Regions from separate parts of the Homo sapiens genome. Here all the other regions are linked to region 1. The links are contacts of gene promoters, found by promoter capture Hi-C in human tissues and cell types (Jung and others, 2019). All regions are on one chromosome and are shown on one strand. Each heading gives the region's core, a stretch centred on a gene start or on the middle of the fragment in contact. The rest is flanking DNA. Distances are from core to core; before and after follow the strand shown.

Region 1 (2,660 bases), core at 86-2,585:
GGCCAGGCTGCCCCGCCCTGGTAGTTCCCGAGGGTCGTCCGAGGCTCTCGTCCACCAACCGCCCCCGTCTGGAAGAATGCGCCCGCTCGAGCGCACTCTCGGCGGGTGCCAAAGCCTCCCGCCTCAACAGGTGCCCCTGCCTGGCCACGCACAGCTCTGTCACCTGGGGCTCGGACGGAGACGGCGACAGGATCGCCCCCTGCAGGGCGGCTGCGGCTCCGCACGCCCCCGCCCGGGTCCCCAGAGCGCCAAGGGCCCCCGCAGCCCCGCCGCCGCCCCCGCTGTGCCACACTGCCTTTGTTTCCCTGCCCGCTTAGATGTCGCGAGGCTGACTTCATGCAAGGGTATCGCCAAGTTCGGGCGCTGACACTGCCCACCTACCCGTGGTGGCGGACCCTAAGGTTGGGAGTGAGAGACGCGTACAGTGCGAGACCTCTCCTCAACCCAGAGAACTCCGGGGAAGCTGGGTGTCCGCGCCGAAGAAGCGGGTTCAAGTTGACCCGGCTCAGAAGGGGGTTCGAAGCCAGGCGCAGCGCCTAGAGAGCCTTCCCCTACCCACGCCCCCACCCGATGTCCTCTGCCCCCAGAAGGCTGGAGAGGGGCTGCGCACTGCCACCTACGCGCTCGGCTGCGAGTGGTTCCCACCGCCCGCTCGCCGCGCGCTGGGCCCGGCAGCCTTCCGGGGCACACGAGGCTCCCGCAGCCCCCAGACTCCCGGCCCCGGCAGCGCAGAGCCGGGAGAGCCGCCACGTTCCCAGCCGCGCGCGCACGCCGGGCCCACCAAACTTGCAGCACTTTCTCCCAGCCCCCACCCTCTGTCACCCTCCCTTAGTCGGTGCGCCCCAGCCCCGCCGCCCGGCAGAGGTTGCCATAACAACGGGCAGGAATGCTCCAACATATACAAAGCCGGCCCGGCGCAGCGGGCACTCAGCCCTGGCCGGGCCCCGCGCCCTCGGCCGCCGCGCAGGGTCTGGACGCGCGCCGCGGCTCCCTAGCCGGCCGGCCGACGCTCGGGGCGTACTCACAATGAGCGGGATGGTGCGGTCCTCGCGGAGCTGCTCCGACCTCCTGCCTGCCCTCTGCGCGCCCCGGCCGCCGGAGGATGCTGCGTGGGCTCGGTTGTCCTGCCATAAGTAGTAGAAAGTGCCCAGGATCCAGGCTACGGTCAGGATGGCGATGGCATTGGCGCGGATCTTCCTCATGGTGGGCAGACGGGCGCCCCAGGTGGGGGACTGGGCCGGCGTGCTCTCGGGGCCGGGGCGGGGGCGCTCGCAGCCCCAGCTGTTTGTTTTCGCTCGCGCCTAGCTGCTCAGTCCTGCAGAGCAGAAAAAGGAGAGAGGTGGGGGGGCGGGGGGGTGATAGGGAGAGACAGGATCGCGGAGCGATCCTCACGGTCCTAATGCCCTTCAGCCCCGAGCGCGCGCGTCCCCCGGGCGCCCATTCATTCGTGCGCAGGGCCGGCCCCGCGCTCCAGCCGCCGCCGGCTGACCCACCAGGCCACTGCGCACTGGGAGAGAAGCGCGCCGAGTGGGAAGCGGCGCGGGCCTTCCTCCCGCGCCCGGGAACCCGGCGAGACAGACGCCCGCGGCGGAATGGCGACTGGCCAAAGCCAGCCTCGGCTCCCACCGCTAGGTGACCGAACGCCCGGCAGCTGCCCCCGCGCGGCCCTGGTCGGTCCTGCCGACCCACACCCACCCCCGGACCGAGCGGCCTTGAGTCACCGACTGGAGACGCGCGACCCCCGACCTGGGCCCGCGCCGCGAGCTGCAGTTCCGGGCTGCGCTCTGGCGCGGGATTCAAGGTGTGTTCGGCGAGTCCTTGTGTAGGGGCGGCTGGGCGGGGGAGAGTCCTGAGTTTGTACTGGAATCTGCAGCTGAGATTAGCCAGACCGGGCCCGCCCAGAGGAGGGATTGGAAGCTGGTGCACTTGACATTCGAAGAGCGCGAAGGGGAAACGACGCTGCCTCACACCCAGTGCTAGGAGAGTGCGGGTACGGCCCTTCCACATTTTTCGCTGGCCTGGGGCTCCCAGATTTCACGATGCTTCCCTCTATCCCGCCTCATTGACCCCTGGACAACCCTGAAATATCATCGTCAGCATTATTTCATCGGAAAGAAGGGCAGCAAGAGAGGCCGGATGATTCTCCCAAGGCCACACAGCTAATTAGTGGGCAGAGCCCAGTCTAGAAGCCATCTCACCATCTGACACCTTTCGACAAAGTGCAAAACGCGGTGGTGAGAGACGAGGACACAGACATTAAGATTCCGCTCCAGCCCTAGAGGCACTGAGAATCAGAACGTGAACTACTCTTCACTCCAGGCAGAAAGCAAGAGGCTTGGATGAGTTTTAGGAAACCAGCACAGTGTCGGGCACAGAGCGCTCAATGAATAGATGTGTAACAACAAAGTAGGGATCCAACAGAGGAAGAAATAATTTATTGTAAGGTGGCCTTTGGGAAAGCTCTCAGAAAGGTGGATGAATCACTTAAGAGGTAAGGAAGGGGGAGGTGAGGACAGGGGAGAGACTGCAGAAATAGGCCTTGCAAAAATCCAGAGGATGGAAGAGCTTGATGTGTTCAAGAGAGAGAGCTGCCAGGCGTTGCAGGGGGCCTAGGATTTGATAGGAGTTGAGGTTGGCCAGGCTGGGTGAGTCTGAACTCA
Region 2 (2,660 bases), core at 76-2,575, 160 kb before region 1:
TTGGTAGTGGGGAGATATTGCCACGCATCTGGTTACAGAAGTTTTTCTTCTGTGTTTATGATTGTTGTGGTGTGAGAGCACAGGAAAAACACGGTTAGAGAGAGTTTTTCTCTACACACAACCTAACACACGGTAGATAATTTTAGTCTTAAACTACACCTGGGCTGGGTGAGGTGTCTCACACCTGTAATCCCAGCACTTTGGGAGGCCAACTTGGGAGGATCGCTTGAGTCCCGGAATTGGCAACCAGCCTAGGCAACAGAAGGAGACTCTATCTCTACAAAAAAAAATTAAACATTAGTCAGGCATAGCAGTGTGCATCTATACTATAGTCCCAGCTACTCAGGAGGCTGAGGTGGGAGGATTGCTTAAACCCAAGAGATTTCAGCTGTGATGGCAAAACTGGACTATAGCCTGGGCGACAGAGTGAGACCATGTCTCAAAACAAACAAATAAAAAAAAAAACCCAAAACCCCCAACTATACCTGAAACAGGGTATGTAAATTATATCTCAAATTGATATTAAAAATAACACAAAGAAACTATACTTGAAGCACTTCTTTCCTCTACTCCAGTGTTTCTGAAACTTGTTTCATAAGAATTGCAGACAGCTTGTTAAAAATAGATATTCCCGGGATCCTTCCTGGAGGTCAGGAAATCATACTTTTAAAATGTGCCTCTTCCTCAAGGAATTTTCATTATCAGACAACTTTAGAAAACAACTGCCACCCATAAAAGGACAAATGTTAGGATAGTGATTTCTATAGTGGAATCACATCCCAGAAAAATTCAAGATGACCCACTAGAATATGAAAGAAAATACTGTTCTATGTATATTTAAATCTCAGGTCTCAAAAATATTCCTGTTTTAGGAGTGTATTTTATAATGTACACATTAAATCAGTGCAATAGTGCATGTAAATCATTCCTCCCTCCCTCTGTAGGATGTGTGACCATAAAAAAAGTAGAGACCACTGCTTTAAGGCTCCTGATTTATTACTGTTCCCCAATGCAGCTGACCACTCCTCAGCCCCTGTCCTATCTTGCAACACTTCTGCAATCCTCATTTATATCTGCCAAAACTCTTTGTCTATCAAACCCCAGGCCTAAGAGCATCACCATTCTGGATAAAGGACACAGTTCTTTTCCTCTACCAAGATCTGAAAAAGTATTTATTATATTGTATCTAGTAAGAAATTTGGAAGTGCCTACCTCTTTATACTATTCTTAACATCTGGTAGACTTGGTACTTGAGGATTCAGCTCATGGATTTAACAGCTGTGGTGTCAATCCTTCACAGGTAACTGTGAAGTTTCATGACATGTAGTAATCGGATTTTGCTAAGTCACAAATGTGAATCAAGTATGCTTTTCAGCTGTGTGAAGGACCAAATTACTTTGCTGGTGAGTAAGCCAAGCTGACCACCAAGCATTTACTCTCACACAGCTATACTGTTCCCTCTGCTTGTTGCTATTAGGGTCAGGAAAGGCCTCTTTAATTTTTTCAGTTATCCTTTACTGCATGGGTCCTCATCAATTATCTATAAAGTTTACTGTAAAGGGTCCTTAAATTTAAATATTTATATCTATATATTTTTAAATTAAACAAAAAATGCAGCCACTATCATGTGGGATTTGGGAAGTGTTTGAGTAAGCATTAAAAAAGAACTGTCATAACTTAAAATGACTCATTCATGCACTGTGGCAAATAAACATTAAGTGGTATTCATGAATTGGGACATTCAGTTGACAAACTGCTAAGGATGTGTCAATATCAAAGATATCAAGATATCTCTCAACAAATCTTCTCAGGGTAGAACTCTATGGTAAACATGAACTGTGCTCAGAAAACATACCACTAAGCTTCATCCTGCTAACCCTCCAAGTCAATAACATATCTCAAATAATGCTCTTCCCTTTCTCACCCTCAAGAATATCTTCATAAAGGGCATGTACTCCTTCAGGCACGATGACTGCCAGAGCAGTTCCACAGAGAAGGCCAGCACCCAAAACAGTCACCAGCTTCAGTCGTTCCTGGGGAGAAAGCAAAAGAAATAATTGCAAACTTTGATTAATTAATGGGAAAAAGTTTCTCAAGTATCTGTAATCAAGACTGTGAGCTGCTCATTTGTGAGACCAACATCTACAATAGACAGCGAAGATGAAAAATGATCAATTGCATGAGTAATGCCAAGTAAAACAAAGAGATGAATTTTTTTTTTTTTTTTTTTGAGACAGAATCTTGCTCTGTCGCTCAGGCTTGAGGCAGTGGCGTGGTCTCGGCTCACTGCAGCCTTCGCCTCCCAAGTTCCAGCGATTATCCTGCCTCAGCCTCCCGGGTAGCTGGGATTACAGGCGTGCACCACCACATCTGGCTAATTTTTGTATTTTCAGTAGAGACGGGGTTTCACCATGTTGCCCAGGCTGGTCTCCAACTCCTGACCTCAGGTGATCCGCCCGCTTCGGTCTCCCAGAGTGCTGAGATTACAAGCGTGAGCCACTGTGCCTGACTGAGATGAAATTTTTTAAATGACCAGGTTAACAATGATTTGGGAAAATGTCTACTATCCATGATAGGAAGAATGAGTACACTTTAATACTGGAAGGAATGTGAATTGCTACAACCTCTGGAGACTACAGTTTGGCATTTAGATTTAAAGC
Region 3 (2,660 bases), core at 94-2,593, 140 kb after region 1:
TGTAGTGAACCATGATTGCACCACTGCACTCCAGCCTGGACAACAGAGCAGGATCCTGTCTCGAAAGAAAGAAGAAAAATTTTTAAAAGACAAACAGAGCAAGATCCTGTCTCAAAAGAAAGAAAGAAAGAAACATTTTTAAAAGACCATGAGGATAGAAATATTAACAAACATTTATTGGGGGCTTATTAAGTGATCAGCCCTATTCTGAATGCTTTTACAGATGTACTCTTATGCTTACAGTTACTCTATGATGTTATTATCCCTATTCTGTAGGTTAAAAAGTTAGGTCATAGAAATGCTAAAGATTTTATTGCAGGTCTCATGATTAGTGAGTGTTCTGCTGAAAAAGAAAAAAAATAAAGCTAGTGAATTGATTTGTCAATGATCATTTAGTGTTTTTCTTGATGGCCACAGTTTTGTTTTGTGTTGTTTCCCCCCTACTTTTTTTTTTTTTTTGAGACAGTCTCTCTCTGTTGCCCAGGCTGGAGTGCGATCGTAGCTCACTGCAGCCTTGAACTCCTGACCTCAAGCGATTCTTCCACCTCAGCCTCCTTAGTAGCTGGGACTTCAAGGGTGTGCCACCAGTTGGCTAATTTTTTTATTTTTATTTTCATAGAGATGGAGTCTAACTATGTTGCCCAGGTTGTAGCCACAGTTGTTTTTTTTTTTTACATCATCCACTGGATAATACACATTGGGAACTGTTACTGTGTTATACTTGGATGCCATTATTTTTTAAAAATTCTCTGTAAGAATGTCCTATCCTTCTTAAATTATTTCTATAAATCTTTTTTCCAGTTAACACTTCTAATTTGTATTAGCATTGGCTTTGTTCATATTTTTTCCCTGAAAACTTAAAAATACTAAATTGTAATGTGGACAGGGACCACCTTGCACGAATGATCAGATGTCTGCTTTTTTCTTTTGCAGGCAATGATGAGCAAGTTATCCTCCATGATGTTGAAAGGTAAATAGATTGGTGGTGTGTGAAGGTGATTGACTTTGTTTTTCATATATGAAGAGGCAAATATCTCTTTAGACTAAAATAGTTTTTGTTTTTTGAAAAAAACAACATGAAACCAGCTGTTCTTTTCTAAAAAAATTCCTACAATAGTTTGAAATAAATAAAGTTTTGATTTAAAAAGGAAAAAGGGATTTGAAAGTTTTGAAAGTTGGTATGAGAGTGTACTTTTTAGGTGAAAATTTAAAACAAGAGTTTAGAAGAGAAGGAACCATAATATTTAAGAACAGTAATAGCTAATATTGATTGAGTTCTTACTATGTGCCAGACACCATTGTAAATGCTTTGTACATATTCATTCATTTAATCCTCACACTCATTTTCTGAGGAGATACTATTGTCATCTCCGTTCTAGATCAGGAAACGGAGTCACAGACATGTTAGATAACAGAAGGTCAGGTGGTACTAAAACCTGAACTTAGGCTATCTGGCCTCAGAGCCATGCTCTTCATCACCATGCCAGATTGCTAGGAGACCCCTCTCCCATCCTGTAGGCATCAGACTTGGCTGCTTTAAAGCTTTCCCTTGCTTTTTGAAAATCAAGTATGACCCCCAAATCTGTACACAAGCAGATGCATTCTGTAATAAATGAAAATACAAAACTCAGCTATTGAGTCACTTTTAAATATGCTTATTTAGCACAAAAATTATAAAATCTCTAAAAAGACTCCTTAATAGTACCTTTTTTTTAACCTGAAAGTTGACTACCTACCTTTCAGGAAATATAATATTTTTTGGGTTTAGCTAGGTTGACTTTCTTCTAGAAATGGAAAAGATGGCACCCTCGGTACCAAAGTGCTGGGACTCTGCACTATGCTTGTGTGTATGTGTGTGCCTCTGTCTTGCTCTCTTATCTCCCAGCAGTGAGACATTGGACGTGTTTGCTCATGAAGATGCAGTATATGGCTTGTCTGTGAGCCCAGTGAATGACAACATTTTTGCCAGTTCCTCAGATGATGGCCGGGTTCTCATTTGGGACATTCGGGAATCCCCCCATGGAGGTAGGCTCACTGTGCAAATGACTGTTGGACTGTGTTGAACAGTTTGATGTCAGATTCATTGAAGATCCAATTTATTACCTCAGTATCTATGTGCAAGTGATGTCAAGGGAAAGGAAATGTGAAACACTCACATGGGGGCATAAGAGGTCTTTGGAGGCCTTATCCTCCACCTAAATACTCAGGAGTGAGGCACCTTTGCCAGTCCTTCTCCACCCTCCTGTGACTCTCCACAAACCCTTGTACTTTGGTGTTTAGTGCCCCAAGGAGCAGAAGTTGTGGTGCTGACATGTAACTATTCTTGATTATTTACAGAGAATGGGGGCGTTATGCACTTTCCTGCATCCTAGTTTCAGGCTTGTTATTTTGTTGAAAGAACCACCGAATCTCAAATTACCTGTGTATAGGATCTTAAAATGATGGCAAATAAACTCTGTTTAAAGGGGATTGTCGTGTGAGTGCCTCCTCTGAATGTGCCCTTTGACTCTCTGATGTGTGAAATGAAGAAGTTGCTTTGTTGACTTTCTCTGAAGTTCTTCAGGAAATGCATCTTCTCAGCTCATTTCCTACAGAGAGATTTCTGTAATTCTACCTGTCTTCAAAAGGCCCCTTCCTCTAGTACCAGCCTTAGTGCCACT
Region 4 (2,660 bases), core at 118-2,617, 140 kb before region 1:
CTCCTAAAGCACTGGGATTACAGGTATAAGCCACCATGCCCGGCTCAAATCTTAGAATTTACAAATGAAATTCCAAACAGGTATAAAATCTCTTGTATTACCATAAGAGGGTAAGAGCAATGTACCAGACAATATAAAAGTCCTTAAAAATGTAACATTGTTAAATCTACTTCAAAGAGAACCTATTGTAGAGGCAGAAGCATACTGAATAAATCTGTTCTTCAGACACAATAAACCTTTGATTTGCGGGTAACTCAAACCCCTAAAGATACTTATTATGAATGAGTCAGTTATTATAATCAGACACTGATATGGTTTGGTTGTGTCCCCACCCAAATCTCATCTTGAGTTGTAGTTCCCATGCGAGGGACCTGGTGGGAGGTCATGCTGTTCTTGTGATAGTGAGTTCTTGCTGTTCTTGTGACAGTGAGTTCTCACGAGATCTGATGGTTTTATAAGGGGCTTTCCCCCTTTTGCTCAGCACTTCTCCATCCTGCCGCCCCATGAAGAAGGATGTGTTTGCCTCCTCTTCTGCCATGATTGTAAGTTTCCTTAGGCCTCCCCAGCTATGCTGAATTGTGAGTCAATCAAACCTCTTTCGTTTATAAATTACCCAGTCTCAGAAATGTCTTTATTAGCAGTGTAAGAATGGACTAATACAGACACAAAACTTTAAAACACGAAAGAACAAAACAAAGCTTAAAATGAGAGTAAGTATAATGAAGAAAAGAGAGTTAAATACTAAGAAAAATAGTATAAAGCAGGGAGGGTAGAGGAAAAGCCCTGGCCTCTCCAAATAGAATGGTAAATAGTAATGCAAACCAAACCCCACAACAAGACCTTTGGATTCCAAACAAATTGCCGAGAAGTTTCCATGACTGCGAAGGGGAGGAGGGGGAGGAGCTTCCCATTATTAAGTCTGTTTCCAAATAAAAGGTTTAACAATTATAAATTAGAACAAAGTTATAAAAATGAAAATCTTTACAAGTTTTTCTAATCAGTATTGAGAATCTGCCTCAATATTTTTGAAAGTTTTTATTATGTTCTAGACATAGTGTTAAGCCTGTGCTTATATTATTTCAACCTCACAACAATCCTAGAAGGTCATTTAACAGAAGAGATTTGGATTTTAATAGCTTGTTCAAGTAGTAACATTGACTTTGAATGATACTGTCTCAGACAGTCCCTTTTGAAATCAGTGCATTATTAATCATATTCATCTTTAAAATCATCCTAAGAATAGCACTACTTTCATCTGCCAACTTATGGATTTATGCTGTTGGTTATTTTAGGGAGTAGGTCTCCTTATGTTGCCAGTGGCTATTCACAGGCACACTCATAGCTCACTGCAACCCTGAACTCCTGGGCTCAAGTGATCCTCCCACATCAGCATTTGGAGTAGCTGGGACTAACCAGTGTGTGCCACTACATCCAGTTTTGCTGTTTTTGTTTGTTTGTTTTTTGTTTTTTTGAGAGGGAGTTTTGCTCTTGCTGCCCAGGCTGGAGTGCAATGGCGCAATGTTGGTTCACTGCAACCTCCGCCTCCCAGGTTCAAGCGATTCTCCTGCCTCAGCCCCCCAAGTAGCTGGGATTACAGGCACGTGCCACCACGCCCAAATAATTTTGTATTTTCAGTAGACACAGGGTTTCTCCGTGTTGGTCAGGGTGGTCTCGAACTCCCGACCTCAGATGATTCGCCTGCCTCGGCCTCCCAAAGTGCTGGGATTACAGGCGTGAGCCACCACGCCTGGCCTGCTTTGCTGTTTTAATACATGAAAAATGTGGCATTATAACTCAAACTGGTCTGCAATAAGAAAAGTATGGCAACTGAGATAAAGCCTTCAGAAATTTTTAGAGCAATATGATTATTACAATTATAGTAGTAATTTTTTATCTGTTGAATTTAACAATACATTTGGGCTTGTATTTTCTATGTCTTTTTTTCACTTCATTTTCCTACTATTTCATTTTTATAAGTGTATTGGTATGGATTGAAATAAAAATTAAAAACAAAAACTGATCCTTTACCAGGCAGTTTGAGGAATATTGCTGTAGAGCTCTGAGCCAAAAACAGCTTGCTCTCTGTTACCAGCTCTGTGACAAAGAGGAGACATACTCAGGTGAGTAACAACCCTCAGATAATCAATCTGAAATCCCACTTGAGCCATCTGTTTTTGTATCATAGCTCCATTTATCAACTGCAGCAGCACTGAGTTTATACTAGGTAATATAGGCTCTCAACCTACTTATGTAACATTGTTATTTAGAGCCAAAGAAAACTACTCATTAGCAATTCAATCGAAAAAACATAAGACAGTGTTAACTATAAACCAACGGGTCTCACTCCCTTACCAAACAGGGCTTCCTTTGTGTAAAGCATGCTTTGGCCTCCTTTATTTATTTATTTTTATTTATTTATTTTTATTTTTTTCTGAGACAAAGTTTTGCTCTTGTTCCCCAGGCTGGAGTGCAATGGTGGGACTCGGCTCACTGCAACCTCCGCCTCCTGGGTTCAAGCAATTCTCCTGTCTCAGCCTCCTGAGTAGCTGGGATTACAGGCACATGCCACCACGCCCAGCTAATTTTTGTATTTTTAGTAGAGATGGGGTTTCGCCATGTTGGCCAGGCTGGTCTCGAACTCCTGACCTCAGGTAATCCGC

What was found. Contacts are between HindIII fragments. The study calls those that stand out against the background at their distance.
Region 2: a contact is called between a fragment that was not itself captured here and the fragment with the promoter of GALNT16 in region 1, in 4 of the 25 tissues and cell types used here (adrenal gland, lymphoblastoid cells, mesenchymal stem cells and 1 more).
Region 3: a contact is called between a fragment that was not itself captured here and the fragment with the promoter of GALNT16 in region 1, in 6 of the 25 tissues and cell types used here (H1 embryonic stem cells, heart right ventricle, liver and 3 more).
Region 4: a fragment that was not itself captured here is called in contact with the fragment with the promoter of GALNT16 in region 1 in 11 of the 25 tissues and cell types used here (aorta, bladder, dorsolateral prefrontal cortex and 8 more).

Annotation. Positions count from the first base shown.
Region 1 is chr14:69,258,833-69,261,492 of GRCh38, reverse strand. GALNT16 (polypeptide N-acetylgalactosaminyltransferase 16) reads right to left here and starts at 1,335. Exons shown (of 15, transcript NM_001168368.2): 1 at 1,026-1,335. The coding sequence starts at 1,202. GALNT16-AS1 (GALNT16 and EXD2 antisense RNA 1) reads left to right here and starts at 966. Exons shown (of 4, transcript NR_184249.1): 1 at 966-1,203. RefSeq lists a silencer at 230-289. The HindIII fragment of the contact is 13,760 bases long and covers 1-2,660 here.
Region 2 is chr14:69,423,467-69,426,126 of GRCh38, reverse strand. It overlaps SLC39A9 (solute carrier family 39 member 9), which reads right to left. Exons shown (of 7, transcript NM_018375.5): 2 at 1,925-2,033. Among named protein-coding and RNA genes, the nearest start is that of SLC39A9, 26 kb to the right of the region's middle. The HindIII fragment of the contact is 3,966 bases long and covers 1-2,660 here.
Region 3 is chr14:69,117,504-69,120,163 of GRCh38, reverse strand. DCAF5 (DDB1 and CUL4 associated factor 5) reads left to right here. Exons shown (of 9, transcript NM_003861.3): 3 at 934-970; 4 at 1,886-2,025. Among named protein-coding and RNA genes, the nearest start is that of DCAF5, 34 kb to the left of the region's middle. The HindIII fragment of the contact is 7,416 bases long and covers 1-2,660 here.
Region 4 is chr14:69,402,855-69,405,514 of GRCh38, reverse strand. All of the region lies in intron 1 of SLC39A9 (solute carrier family 39 member 9), which reads right to left. Among named protein-coding and RNA genes, the nearest start is that of SLC39A9, 5.5 kb to the right of the region's middle. The HindIII fragment of the contact is 6,795 bases long and covers 1-2,660 here.